2 separate regions of the Homo sapiens genome follow, and region 1 is linked to region 2. Evidence: promoter capture Hi-C in 16 types of primary human blood cells and fetal thymus (Javierre and others, 2016). All regions are on one chromosome and are shown on one strand. The core of a region is centred on a gene start or on the middle of the fragment in contact, and the rest is flanking DNA. Distances in the headings are between cores, read along the strand shown. Region 1 holds the start of SLC2A10 (solute carrier family 2 member 10). Region 2 holds the start of CDH22 (cadherin 22).

Evidence for each region. The method cuts DNA at HindIII sites, captures the fragments that hold promoters and counts their contacts. A CHiCAGO score of 5 or more calls a contact.
Region 1: the fragment with the promoter of SLC2A10 here is called in contact with the fragment with the promoter of CDH22 in region 2 in 1 of 17 cell types (M0 macrophages); the score reaches 5.3 in M0 macrophages.

What each region holds. Positions count from the first base shown.
Region 1 is chr20:46,704,684-46,711,367 of GRCh38, forward strand. It overlaps SLC2A10 (solute carrier family 2 member 10), which reads left to right and starts at 4,966. Exons shown (of 5, transcript NM_030777.4): 1 at 4,966-5,057. The coding sequence starts at 5,054. The HindIII fragment of the contact is 5,872 bases long and covers 2,916-6,684 here.
Region 2 is chr20:46,304,044-46,310,316 of GRCh38, forward strand. It overlaps CDH22 (cadherin 22), which reads right to left and starts at 4,455. Exons shown (of 12, transcript NM_021248.3): 1 at 4,212-4,455. The HindIII fragment of the contact is 22,305 bases long and covers 1-6,273 here.

The DNA of each region.
Region 1 (6,684 bases), core at 3,716-6,215, 400 kb after region 2:
AACCTCAAATCCACCTCCTGGAGGAGTTTCAGCCTTGGGATTTTAAGGGTTTTGGAGTGGGCTGAGGTATAGGGATCGTCGTTTGGTTGAAGAATGCAGAGTGAAGTCACAGGACAGGGAGATAAAGAAATTTCGTTCTTAGGCTGATTCAGTTCCTCTGTGGGGGTCTTCAAACTGGTTGGTGTCTGCCGGTCCACTGGAATTCAGGATCTGAAGAACATCTTAAGCAATTCCTAAACAAAAAGCCTTATGATGCAAAGGTCAGAAATCCTATCTGTAGGAACAATGGGGATGCAAATGGCAGTATCTAGTGCCACATGACTTTCAGTTACAAGGAAGTGGGCCAAAGGGCAGCCAAATTAATGCTTAATTATAACTATGTTTCTGCCCAGAACCCAGCATGTAATTCTAGTTAACCCTATGAGGACAATTTCATGGCGGCACATGCCTATAGTCTTTGCTACTCAGAAGACTGAGGCAGGAGGATCACTTGAGTCAGGAGTTAGAGGCTGAAGGGCACTATCCTCATGCCTGTGAATAGCCACTGCACTCCAGCCTGGGCAACATAGTGAGACTCCATCGCAAAAAATACAAAATAAAATCTCAAAGCAGAATCCACTTACAAAACAAACTCTAAATGTGCAAGTTATACTCCCTTTCTCAGCCCTAATCCAACCCTCCATCGTGCCCTCCCCTCCTCACTCCTGCTAAACTTCAGGGTTGCCGACAGCTGAGTTTAAGCTCCATGCCCTGCTACATGATTCACAGCTGAAGCCTCCTTCTGGGTCTTGCTGTCTTCATCCTGCCTCTTCTGATCCATCCCGACAGTCCCAGGGAAGTGTAGTTGTTCCTGGTCTGTTCCTCATTAGCTGTGTCGAAAGACAAAATCACAAGTTTAAAGATCTCAGTTGGCTTTATTTACAATTCTAAAATTGGGCAACACTTCGTTTCATCAAATAGAATAAATGTTCCAGTAAGCTGAGAAGCAGAGGTTGGCTTTATAAAGACAGAGAAGGACTGAAGAAAGCAGAAACAAAGAACAAAAAGTATATTAGTTACTTTAGAGCAATAGAAAAATAACTGGTTAACATCAGGTTACTTCAGGCTACCTTTTTTGTGTAAGGATGAAAGCAGAGGGAACTTCATCATCACACTGATTGAAGATTTAAGCTGGCTGCTTGTCTCTCTCCTGATTTCTGGAAAGGTCAGATAACAACTTAGCTTAGGTTCAGTGACCTGGAACTCTAGCATGGGTGACTCCATTTTGATTTTCAGTCTGTTCTGTTGGGGACTAGTGCAGGAGCTTAGTCCAAAACAATGGCTGGTAAGGTTGCCAGATTTAGCAAAAACAGCAACAAATAGTATGCCCAGTTAAACGCGAATTTCAGATAGACATCAAATAATTTTGTAGTAAAATTATGTCCCATGTTTATCTGAAATTCACATTTAACTGGGCATCCTGTATTTTATCCTGTATTTTATCTAAATTCTGTGTCACTCCCCAAGAAATCAACTTGGGTTCTGAGGCCATCTATAAAAGGAAGTTTATTAAAGTGGCTTTTTAAGGGAATTTTTTTTTTAAATCAGAGAAACTCCTTTTTCCATGATGGACCCCAAGCTAATGAATAGGCTTTTAAAATAGTGAGTGAGAGGTTTACAACACTTAAGAGACAGACATTGGTGAGAAGGGCTTTTCAGCAAAGTCCTATAATTGCTGAATGGGTTCTTCCTGCTCGCTGCACAGACAAAACCAGTTCACTGAGACTGCAGTATTGCAGTAGAGAAAGAGTTTTATTAATGCAGAGCTAGCCAAGTGGGCTAGGTGGAGTTATTCCTCAAATCAGTCTTTCTGAAAACTTCAGAAACCAGGGTTTTTATAAATACTTTGGTGAGCAGGGGGATAGGGAATGGGTGCTGCTGATTGGTTGGGGGGGTGAAATCATCGAGATATGGAAAACAGCCCCGTGCACTGAGTCTGCCTCTAGATGGGAGCCACAGGACCAGTCCACTCATGAATCTTTAGTCCAGGCGGGGTCAGTTGGTTGCCAGGATGTGAAAGTATGAAAAACATCTCAAAAGATGAATCTTAGGTTCTACAATAGTGATGTTATCTACAGGAGCAATTGGGGAAATTACAAATCTTGTGACCTCTGGCCACATGACTCCTGAGCAGTAAGGAATTACCAAAACTACACCTGCATTTTAGCATAATTCAGGCCCATCCCATAATCCTAACCTCATGGACTTTCATTAATTTTACAAAGGTAGCTTCAGTCCCTGAGCAAGGAGGGGGTTAGTTTTAGGGAGTGATTATTATCATCCTTGCTTCAAAGTTAAAATATAAACTAAACTCCTCTCGTGGTTGGCTTGGCCTATACCCAGAAATAAGCAAAGACAGGTAGCCGGTGAGGTCAGAGTCAAGATGGAGTCAACCATGCCAGATTTCTCTTGCTCTCTAATCTTTGCAAAGGCATTTTCAGTCCCTTAAGATCACATTAAATTAAAGTTAGATACCATCCTCACCGATTTCTCAGCTTCTGATGGTTAACTGTTCAAGGGTCAGAGGAGAGATTCAAGGCCAAGGGTGATAAGCCTCCTAGTGTCCATGTAGATATAACCTAATCTCTACTTTCTCCTGGAGATGATCCATCTCCTTTTTCTAATCAAGATAATGAACAATAATGAAATGTGTATTCGTTATTTATCACTGTATAACAAATTATTCCCCAAATTTAGTGGCTTAAAGAAACAAACATTTATTATCTCATGTCTTCTAGGATAAAGAATTTAGCATAGCTAAATTCTAGCTCTGAGCAAGAGCTCAGAATCTTGCAAGGTTGAAATCAAGGTGTCAGCCAGGACTAGAGTCACCTCCAGGCTAGGCTGAGGGAAGATTCACGTCCAAGCTCACCACAAGCTTGTTGGCCAGATTTAGCTCCTTAGGGGCTGTTGATTTAAGGGCTTTAGTCCCTCACTGGTTATTGCCTGGAGGCATTAGCTATGTGATTCAATAGCTTCGCTCCATGTGGGCCTCTCCATTGGGAAGCTCAAAACATGGCAGCTCAATTGCTTCATCAGAGCAAACAAGTGAGAGATCTCGAAACTGAACAACACAGAAATCATTTATAACCTAATCCGAAAATGACATCCACCATATTTGCCGTCTTCTATTCATTAGACGTTGCTAAGTGATACTTCTAGTGACATCTAGAAGAGAAGAGGATGCCACTAGGCCACGAATACCAGGAGGGTCTCAGTGTAATCAGACTTTTTATATGAAGGCTCAGGGATCCAGGCACCAGTATTCCAGTGACCCAGCCTCAGAAGTTACACAGTGTCACTCTGCAGGCTACTGATCAAACCAGTCACAAGCCCACTTTTATTTCAAGGGAAGGAACAACGAATTCTGGAGCCATGTTTTCAAACTGCCCCAGCTATTATTATTTTTGAAACTGTGCAAGGATCCCCTGGTTCAGAGGTCTTATGGATGCTGTCATCTTTGCTGAGATACCTGCTTGTGCCTTCAGCATGGAAGAATGCCTGTGTATCCACCTGTACGGTAGGGGTCGCTGTGACTTTGACTGGTGAGGGTACAGCCACTGGTGCACATGCAAAGGTGCCTATCTGTGAACACGTATTGAGAGGCTGGATAAGGCTGCGCCCATGTGAGTGCTGGGCTTGTACGTGCATTTTTGCCTGAGTGAGCATTAGTGGCAGTGTCCCCAGCCTACCCCTTTCCTGAATCCCAGGCTCATAGCCAACTGCCCACCTATTTCCACGTGGATGCCTGCTGAGCACCTCAAATGTCACACAGCCAAGACAGAACTCTGGATCTCCTTTCCCAGCCACAAGCTGCCCCTCTTCCAGTCTGTAAGTTCTTACGGAGCATATATATGTGATCTGCCTACTTTTCTCCAACCTCACCACAGTGACATGAGCCCAAACCAACTTCTCACCTTGCAACAGCCTCCCAGGTGGGAAGGCTGAGTATTCTGGCCCTTAACCAGTTAGAACTCCCCAGTTATCTGTCCTGCTGATGGGGTTGAAATCTACATTCCTGACCCTGGCCCACCAAAGCCCCTCCCTTAGCTCCCATCTCCCTCCTCTCTCCCTGTCTTCTCCTCTGCTCCAGACACTCTGGCTTCATTTCTGCGTTTTTTGTACCCCATAAGCTCCTTCCCACCCCGGGGCCTTTGCCTTTGCTGTTCCCCCTGCGGGGAATGCCGGATCTCTGCTCAGATATCCTCTTCTCAGATCAGCAAGCTAAAGCAGCCACCTGTGTCTGCCTAACCCACCACCGTAGTTTAACTTTCTGCCTAGTCTTTATCACTAGCTGATATTTCTCAGGATCCTTTAGTTACTTCTTTTTCGTCTTCCCCTCCTAGAATGTAAACTCTTCCCCTCCTAGAAGGTAAACAAAAGACCTGTTCTGTTTTGTTCTTCGGCCCATCCCAAGCCTAGCGTAGTGCCTGGTATGTGGTGGTGTCCAAACCCAAGCGTGGAGTGAATGAGGGATGAATCCATGAGAGAGTGAGCGGCTCCAGTGGGTATGCGCGAGTGTCTCACTCGGTGTAGATGTGTGTGTTGTGTGTGTTGTGTGTGTGCGCACGCTGGGGAGGCCAGACAAGTGTGGACCAGTGATTGGGGCACCTCTTCCCTGCAAAGAGGCCAGGGGAAGACAGTGCGTGTGGGGTCTTCTACCAGGGAGGATGGCTTGCTGGTGTGTCCCCCCCAGGGGAGGACTACCAACGAAGGGGACCCGGGAGATGGCGGGTGGGGGCCCCCGGGAGGACAGTGGGCGAGGGAGGGGGTCCTTGCCAGGCCTGGGGCGGCCGGGGGCGGTCCTGGGCTCCCCTCCGTCCCGCCTCCAGGCCTCGGGGCCTGGCTGGCCGACGTGGCGTTGGCGGCGCTGCGCGCGGGAGGGCAGGGCAGGAGGGACAGAGGCGGGGGCGGGCCGGAAAGTTTGTCCGGCGGCAGCGGCGTTGGGGACTCCGGCGGGGGATGCGCGCCCGGCCCCTCAGCGCCCCCAGCACGCCGCCGAGTCCCGCTCGCCATGGGTAAGTCCCGATCGGGCGCTGCCTGCTGGAAGCCCGACCCCTTCCCAGGGTGTAGACACCGCCCCCACGCTCCCCTAAGAGTGCGCGCCCCCTGGCTCCCCCAGGGCCGCCCCGGCCGGATACCGCCTCTCGGGTGGCCAGCCCGAGACTGCAGGCCTGCGGCGGGGGCTGGGACGGGGCTCGGTCGCGCTTCCTTCCATCTTCCTTTCTGCCCCGGAAAAGTGGCCCCTCACTTGCTGCAGCGCCCACTCGGGCCCAGGCACTCTCCCGGGCGCCCTGATCCGACAGCCCCAGGCAAGTGCAGCTGTTCCTGGTCTGCAGATGAAGAAATGGAGGCTCCGAAAGAAGCAAAGCAGTTCATCGATTCGCTGAGCGCGGTTGTGCCCCAGGCGCTGTTGTGGGCCTGGGGACGCTGTCGCGAACGAAACTGCGAACAAAACAGACGAACCCCCTCCTCTGGACGTGATTCTGCAGAGAGGGGACAGAGAAGGAGATTCTAACACAGCATTGGGGTGGGACGCGTGGGGAATGGCTTTGTTGCCACTCGGGACTAGGGCTCTATTTTTCTCTCTGCATTCAGAAGCCTCGAAGGATCAGTCGTTGATTCTTGAGTGAGCACCTACTACGTGCCAGACATTGATATAGGGGTTAGAGCTTCAGCAATGAACAAAATAGACAATAAACCTCTCTCTCATGGAGGTGGCATTCTGATTGAGCAGCTGGGTAAACACGTTTATGAATAACTTCAGAGAGAGATAAGGTGTTGTGGAACCCATAAAATGGGGTGGCGTGAAGGCCAAGGGCGTGGGTTCCTTGGGTAGGTGGTCAGGGTGGGTTTTCTGGAGTAGGACGTTTTGGAGCTGAGAACTTCCTCAGAAGCGGGTCTTGCTGAGATCTGGAGAAAGAGCTTCCAGGTGGCAGCAACAGTGCAAAGGCCCTCAGGCAGGAATGAGTTTGTGTGGCCCAGGCCAGGATGGCCAGAGCACAGCGGGCAGGGCACTGAGGTCAAAGGGATGGCAGAGAGGTGTGCAGGGCTTTGTAAGCCGTGGTGAGAAGTTCAGATTTTATTGCAAATGCCACGGCAAGCTGGAGAAGGGTTTTAAGCTGGAGCGGGGCCGTGACCTGAATTATCTTTTCTTTTTTTTTTCTTTTTTTTGAGATGATCACTCTGTCGCCAGGCTGGAGTGCAGTGGCGTGATCCCGCTCACTGCAACCTCCAGCTCCCTGGTTCAAGCAATTCTCCTGCCTCAGCCTCCCAAGTAGCTGGGATTACAGGCATACACCACCACGCCCAGCTAATTTTTGTATTTTTAGTAGAGAGTGGGTTTCACCATGTTGGCCAGGATGTCTTGATCTCCTGACCTCGTGATCCGGCTGCCTCGGCTTGGGATTACAGGCGTGAGCCTCCGCGCCCGGCCCTGAATTAACTTCTCAAAGTTTGCTCTGAGTCGTTCTGTGGAGAATCACAGTCGCTAACACTGGCTATGATGTAGGTAAGCATAGAAGGTAGGCATTAATATCCCATTTGTAGATGGGGAAGCCCAGAGAGGTGAGGTGAGTTCCCCAAGGTCACACAGCTATGGAGAGGAGAAGCTGGGAAGGAGCCCCAGCATTCTGACTCCAGTCT
Region 2 (6,273 bases), core at 3,205-5,704:
TGAATCTGTGGGACTCTAGAACATGTTCCCACACTGCCGGCTGCATGCAGGGACTCCACCTTCCTCAAGGCAAAGGAAGAAGGATCCTGAAGTCAGAGACGGATCCTGAAGTCAGAGACAGATCCTGGTGGTCCTAACTCAATTCCCCTCCTGCAGGGGTGCAGGCAGCTGAGATCATGTGCAAAACCAAACAAGGAGGAACTGCTGCATTTACCCCATGGGAACCAAGGAATATAAATGGAGGGATATGAGCAATAACAATACTGCTTTATGTATGGGGTGTCCTATGTGCCAGGCATTGTGCTCAGCACCATACATGCTCATGCACATTTGATCTTCACAACCCAATGAGACAGGTATTACATTTTCCTCCATTTCACAGAGGAAGAAACTAAGGCTCAGAGAGGTAAAGTAACTTGCCAGCAAGTCACAAACTCAGGCTGGTTGGACTCCAATGCCTACGCGCTTAATCATCTATTTATATTATGCACAGGAAAGAGCTGGTAACAAGTGGATGGCTGAAGGCTTGTGGGTCTGACGACAAAGCAAGAAGTTCCCAGCCTAATCCCAATGTGACAGCAGGAAGGAGCCTGCTGATGGGGCATGGAGGGAAATGTGGGGGAAGAAGGGAATTCCTCCAGGTTGCTGTACCTCATGTGTTTGAAATCAGACCCACATATTCGGAAAGGTGTGTGCCCATTGTAAGAGAGCTGAGCTAAGGAGTGAGTAGTGAATATATCCTTAACCCCCAGATGGGCCACCTTTGGAGTAATTAAAGAAAGGGATCCTTTTCTGGGGGTAAGCAGCCCCATAGGCCCATGGCTGGTAAGTATATGAAGCCTTTTTGCAAATTAGAGAAAGATGCCCCCTCCTCCAGGCAGGCACAGCCTGTCTTTGGGGCACCTGACTTGGAGAGTGGAGCTTAAAATAGATTTCAGTCCCCGCTCTCCTCCTGCATTAAATGCCCTTGGACAGTCAACAACCTGCCCAACTGCATATAACAGCCATGCCTCCAGCCTTCCTGTCCTGCACCTCTGTTTCCAAGCAGCCACTGTGTATCATCAACAATGAGAAAACGTCCCTCCTGCCAGATACACAGAGCTCAAATCACTCCACAGACAACTTTCTTGTTAGGCCTTGTCTCCTCCATGGGCGGAAAGACAGTCCTATCATGCCCACTGCCCTGATGAAAAGTTGAGGTCAGAGCCTGTCCTCGTGGTGAAATATCTAGGCTTTCTCTAGAGAGGCCAGAATCAAAACACAAGGTTGTAGGAAGGAGAGGCCTGAGTTGAGAGCTCCATCTTAAAGGTGCTTTGAGGAACCCGGGGTGGAGGGTGTGCCCACTCTTGCGGGGGGCATGAGGCTTTTCTCTCTGAGCCTGACCTGAGGCCTGGGTTTCCTCTCAGCCTGTTTCCCCACCTGGTCCCCAGCCCCTAGCACCCTTCCTGGCTCAGCTATGGGGAGGAATGAGGAAGTCCTTGGCCCCGGGGCCTCAGCCCAGACACCACCGTAGGGTCTTCTATTCCCTCACTCCCTCCCAGGCCATGCAGTGCCAGCTGCTACCCGTGTTATATAAACAGAAATCATTCACTCTCTCTCACTCTACCTGAGGCTGCATTTCAGATTGGAGCTTCCTGATGGAAGAAAAAGGGGAGGGGGAAGAACAGAGAGAGAGAGGAGAGGAAGTTTAATTGGCTGACTCTTATCGCCCATGTGGTAAATAAACTGGCTGCTCCGAACTTTGCCAACTCGGGAGGAGACGGGCCCTCCTGGGCTCCCTGCCTTAGCTATGGCCCGGCCCCCTGTCAGACAACTTCAGAATGCAGCGCTCCTGCAAAGCTCTCAGAAAGACCAGTGCCTGGGGAAGCAGCAGGGGCTTTGGGGGTTCCAACCTCTAGGTATGATTATTCCAGAGCACGACCAGAAACATCCAGAGATCACAGCCACCCTTTTGACAGAAAGGCTGTGACTCACCCGGAGGTCACAACACACTTTTAGGGGCCAAACTTTGTCCTCTGCTTCTGCTACTCGGCGTCTCTGCTAAAGGCATTCAACAGCTTTCCTCCGGCACTGGCCTGGGAGCACTGGGGGTCTAACTTGAACACCTCATGCTGAATTTAGAGCAAGTGTCTTCTTGTCCTGCCTGCAGCGTGAAGCCAAGAAACGGCTCTGTTTTGCCCCAGGCCTACCCAACACATAAGCAGCGTTGGTGAGGCCTGGATGTCAAGATGCCTGGGTTCCTATTCCGGCTCTGGGTATAGCTTACCATGTGACCTCGGGCTGCTGTTGCCAATCCTTGAAAATGGAAAAGAGGGCAGCCCAGGTGGTCTCCAATGTGCTGCTCACAGTTAGGAATAGGGAAAGGGGTTGTCTCCAGGGGTCCCCTGATGGGGCCACCCAAGAGGTACAGGTGCCCCTTAGCTGAGAGAGACCTGGCTGGCTTTATAAAGTACCTGCCCCCGAGGCACTGGCAGTGGTGGACCGGGAAGGGCACACAGACATCTCCAGGAAGCAGTGTTTAAATGTTGGCAATGCCCTTCCCTTCCAGGAGGAATGGAAGAGGAGTGTCCCAGACACTGGGACAAGGAGGGAAATAAGGGTGAAGTAGAGAAATGGCTGGGGCAGGGAACAGTTGAGTGCTACAGAAAAACTGAGGCAGACAGGATAGAAGATGGGTCGGGGTTGGGGGGGACGAGGAAATGGTCATTGGTGGGCAAAGACCAAAGGATGTCACTATGGGTGTAGAGGCCAAGTTTCAACAAGGGCTGTAGACTAGGGGCAACTGAGGGGGACGGAGTGGGCACTGATGGACACATATACGGGATACAAATGAAGGACAGAGAGTCGCGGTGGTTAGGGAGGAGCCTTTGGGCCCTAGGGCAGTGGTGATGCTGATATAGGGTATTGGCGCTGACCAGTGGGAGAAGAGGATGAGATCCTGAACCTGGGTGGAGAGGGAGAGAGAGCTGGCAACAGCCAAAGCCCTCAAATGAGCCGCTGCCTGTGCTGGGGGCACCTCGGCCAGCCCCAGAAACCTGGGGAGTGCTGGAATCAGCCCCACGGAAAAAGAAGCTGGCATGCGCAACCCTGGCGACGCCCGAAGGGTTTGGAGAGAAGAGGTTCCAAGGAGCGAGCACCTCGGAAGACCTGAGCAGCTTCAAACAGCAGCTTCTCTGCCCGCCACAAGGGGGTGCCCTGCACCTCGGGGAGACCTCGGGGGATCCTGGATCAGCCCTACCCTCTGCAGCCCCGCCTGGGACAGGGCCCGACGTTGCCAGAGAAGAGGCAGCGGGGAGGCGCGAGCGAGACGGGTCCACACTGTGCCCACCCAGGGCTGCCCGGCACCCCGCGCGCCCACGCAGTCCACTCTTCACAGTAAACGCCGCGGCCCCCGAGGGTTAGCCCTAAGTGGCGCTCTCTTTGGACGTTAGGCTGTCGGGGGCCCCGTCCTTCTTCCCCAGCGGGGACGGTGTCTCCGGAGTCGGGTCCTAAGGAAGAGAGCAGCGCTGGCTCTCGCTCACCGCCAGCCCGCCCGACGGCCATAGGGCAGGGGGGGTCGCGCCGGTGGGGCCGGCAGGGGTCCCTGTGGGCCGCCTCCCCGGCTCAGAGGGGACCAGAACCGTGCGTGTCGCCGCGGCTGGAGTCAGCCTCCGGGTGTCCCCGGACGCGGCACGACCTCGCACACACACACCGCGCGCACACGCTCGCGCCGTGCGGTATTTTCCCGGCCCCGGACCCCGCCTCTGGGAGGGGCCGGGGAGCCGAGCCCCGCTAGCAGGGTTGGGGGACCGGGAACGCCTGGGTCCCAGCCCTCGCGTCAGGGCTGTGCGCCACCTTCCCAGCCCCTTTTGGCGCGCCGGCTCGGCCCCTGGCGCTGCCACCCCTCGGCCCGCGGGGGTCCCGGAGGCTCCCGGGCGCGCGGCGGACGAGGTTGTGGGGACGGGTGGGAGCTGCGGGCTTCGGGCCGAGAGGCGGCTCGGCTCCGCGCCGGGGAAAGTTTGGACGTGGGAAACTCCCTCCCCGCCCTCCCGGCCGAGAGGAGGGGGCGCGCAGGGCCGGGCGCAGGCACCCCGGCTCCTCCTGCGGCTGGAGGCTCGCCCCCCGCGCCGCCTGCCCGGCCGCTCCCGCCGGCCAGGGGGCTCCCTCCCTGCCGGGCAGCCTCCCCTCGGCGGCGATCCGGCCGCTCCTCCCGCGGCACCCCGCGCTCTTACCTCGGGGAGCGGCCCGGGGCTCCCCCTAGTCCTGCCGCCTCGGGACGCTGCGTGGGGCGGGAGCCCCGGCGCGGGCAGCGGGCGAGTCCGGAGCCCCGCGGCCGCCCGCAGGAGCCGGAGGGAGAGCGGGAGCGAGAGGGGGAGCCGCGGCGGCGTGTGCGCGCGTGTGTGTGAGCGAGAGAGCGAGAGAGCGAGAGAGCGAGGGAGTGAGCGAGCGAGCGGGAGCGAGGGAGTGTGCGTGTCTGACTGGGGGGAAGTGTGCAAGGGACGGATCCCTTCCTTCCTCCCGCAGCCTCTGGTGGAGACTCGGAGAATGCAGGGCCCGCCGGGCAGGAGCCGCGCAGCGCCAAGCCGCAGGCGGCCGCCGGCCCGGACCCCCGCAGCCGGGGAACCCCAGCCCCCGCCCCCCGGATCGCGCCCCTCCTACACCAGGAGGGGACAGCCTTTCCCTCTCTCGGGCGGCCCAGTCCCAGGAAACCCCCCAGGGGACAGTGCCCCTCCCTCCTCCAACCCCAGATCCGCGCGAAGGGAGCGCCCCCAGGAGGGGGACCATCTACCTCCTCGCCTGGCAGCTCCCCAGGTGGCCGCAGTTTGAGACCAGAGCCTATTTCCCCACCTGATTTTACTGCGAATAGGGCTTCCCATTTCCGCCCCCTGACTACTGCGGGAGGCCGCCTTCAGAGGAGCAGGGGCGCAGGCCAGGGTAGGAGCAGGCTTCTCGAACAGTGGCCGCCCCGGCTTGCTGCCCAGAAAGGCACCTTGCACAGACCAGATCTGCCAGTTCAGAAACAGTCACTGTGCATTGAGGTGGACACCGACCAGGTGCCCAGGGCTGAGTCTCCAGGCAGGTGGGAGGTCGGGTGTCCCCGGGAGAGAAACTTGTGGGCTTTTCCTCTGGAGAGTCCCGCTGGACATCCTTGCAACCAACAAAGTAAGCAGGCAAAACAAGACACCTCCATCCTTAACTTGGTGCCACCTTGACCTGGAGAAGTCTCCCAATAAAATCTTCCCACTGCCCAGAAACTCCTTGCTGGTTGGGTTTTCCGTTCTTTTAAAAATCCGGCTGGTCTGCTCCCTGATGTTTTTTCCACCTGGCCCTGTTTCTTTCTCCTGGCTGCCTGGCTCTCCTTACTACTTCATCTCTCTGGGATGAGGCCTAATGGAGGAGACCCTCCCACCCCACTCCTGAGTTCCCAATATGAGGTCGTTGATGGTAGGATAGGACCAGTGACTCCCATAGACCCACCCTTTGTCTTGGGTTGTAGGTCCCCTTAGGAGTTGCCCGCCCCCCTATTCCCCATGGCTTCCAGATAGGTGAGTGAAGGATAACAGGAGACTGGACAGCTGCAGACCTCTGTCCCGCCAAGCTGCCAATGACCAGCCATTTAATCACCCACAAGCAGCTGCTGAAGTTCATGGCAAAGAGGGGGCAGGGCCCTCCAGGACCCCCAGCTCTACCTCGCCCCTATCCTTCTCTCCTCCTCGCCTCCTTCCCCAATTTCCATCTCCATCTCCACACCCTAGTCCGTCTTGCTGATGATTGGAATCACCTCTCCTGCTGGCTGCCCCTCTGGCCCCTCCTACTAAACTCCATCATTCATTTATTTATTTTGAGATGTATTCTCCACTGTGCCAGTCTGTTCCCTCCCCTACGTCCTTCTCTTGGTTTATTTCCCTTCATTGATCTCTTCCAGCCTTGCCTTTCTATCGCCTTCCTTTTCTCCATCTCTCTCTTCCCCTCTCCTCTCTATTCTTAGCCTCCACTCTTTCATGCTTTCAGAGACCAGAGGCCAGCCTTCCAGGTGCATCTCTTCACTTTTGGTTCTCTCCTCCCGCTCTGACTCACTTTTGCTGTTTGCTCCAGTTCCCATTCCTTCTTTGCCTCTTCCTCCAGGCTCTGGTGTGTGCTGTTCATCTCTGGAGTCAGACCTACTTAGTTGTCCACAGGTTGTTTTGGTCTGGGACACTGTTGCTGTCACATCTGCATGCACACAGTAGGTGCTCAATAAATGTTATTGAATGAACTGTTGTCACATCTTTCTCTTTTGCTCTGGTCTCTCTC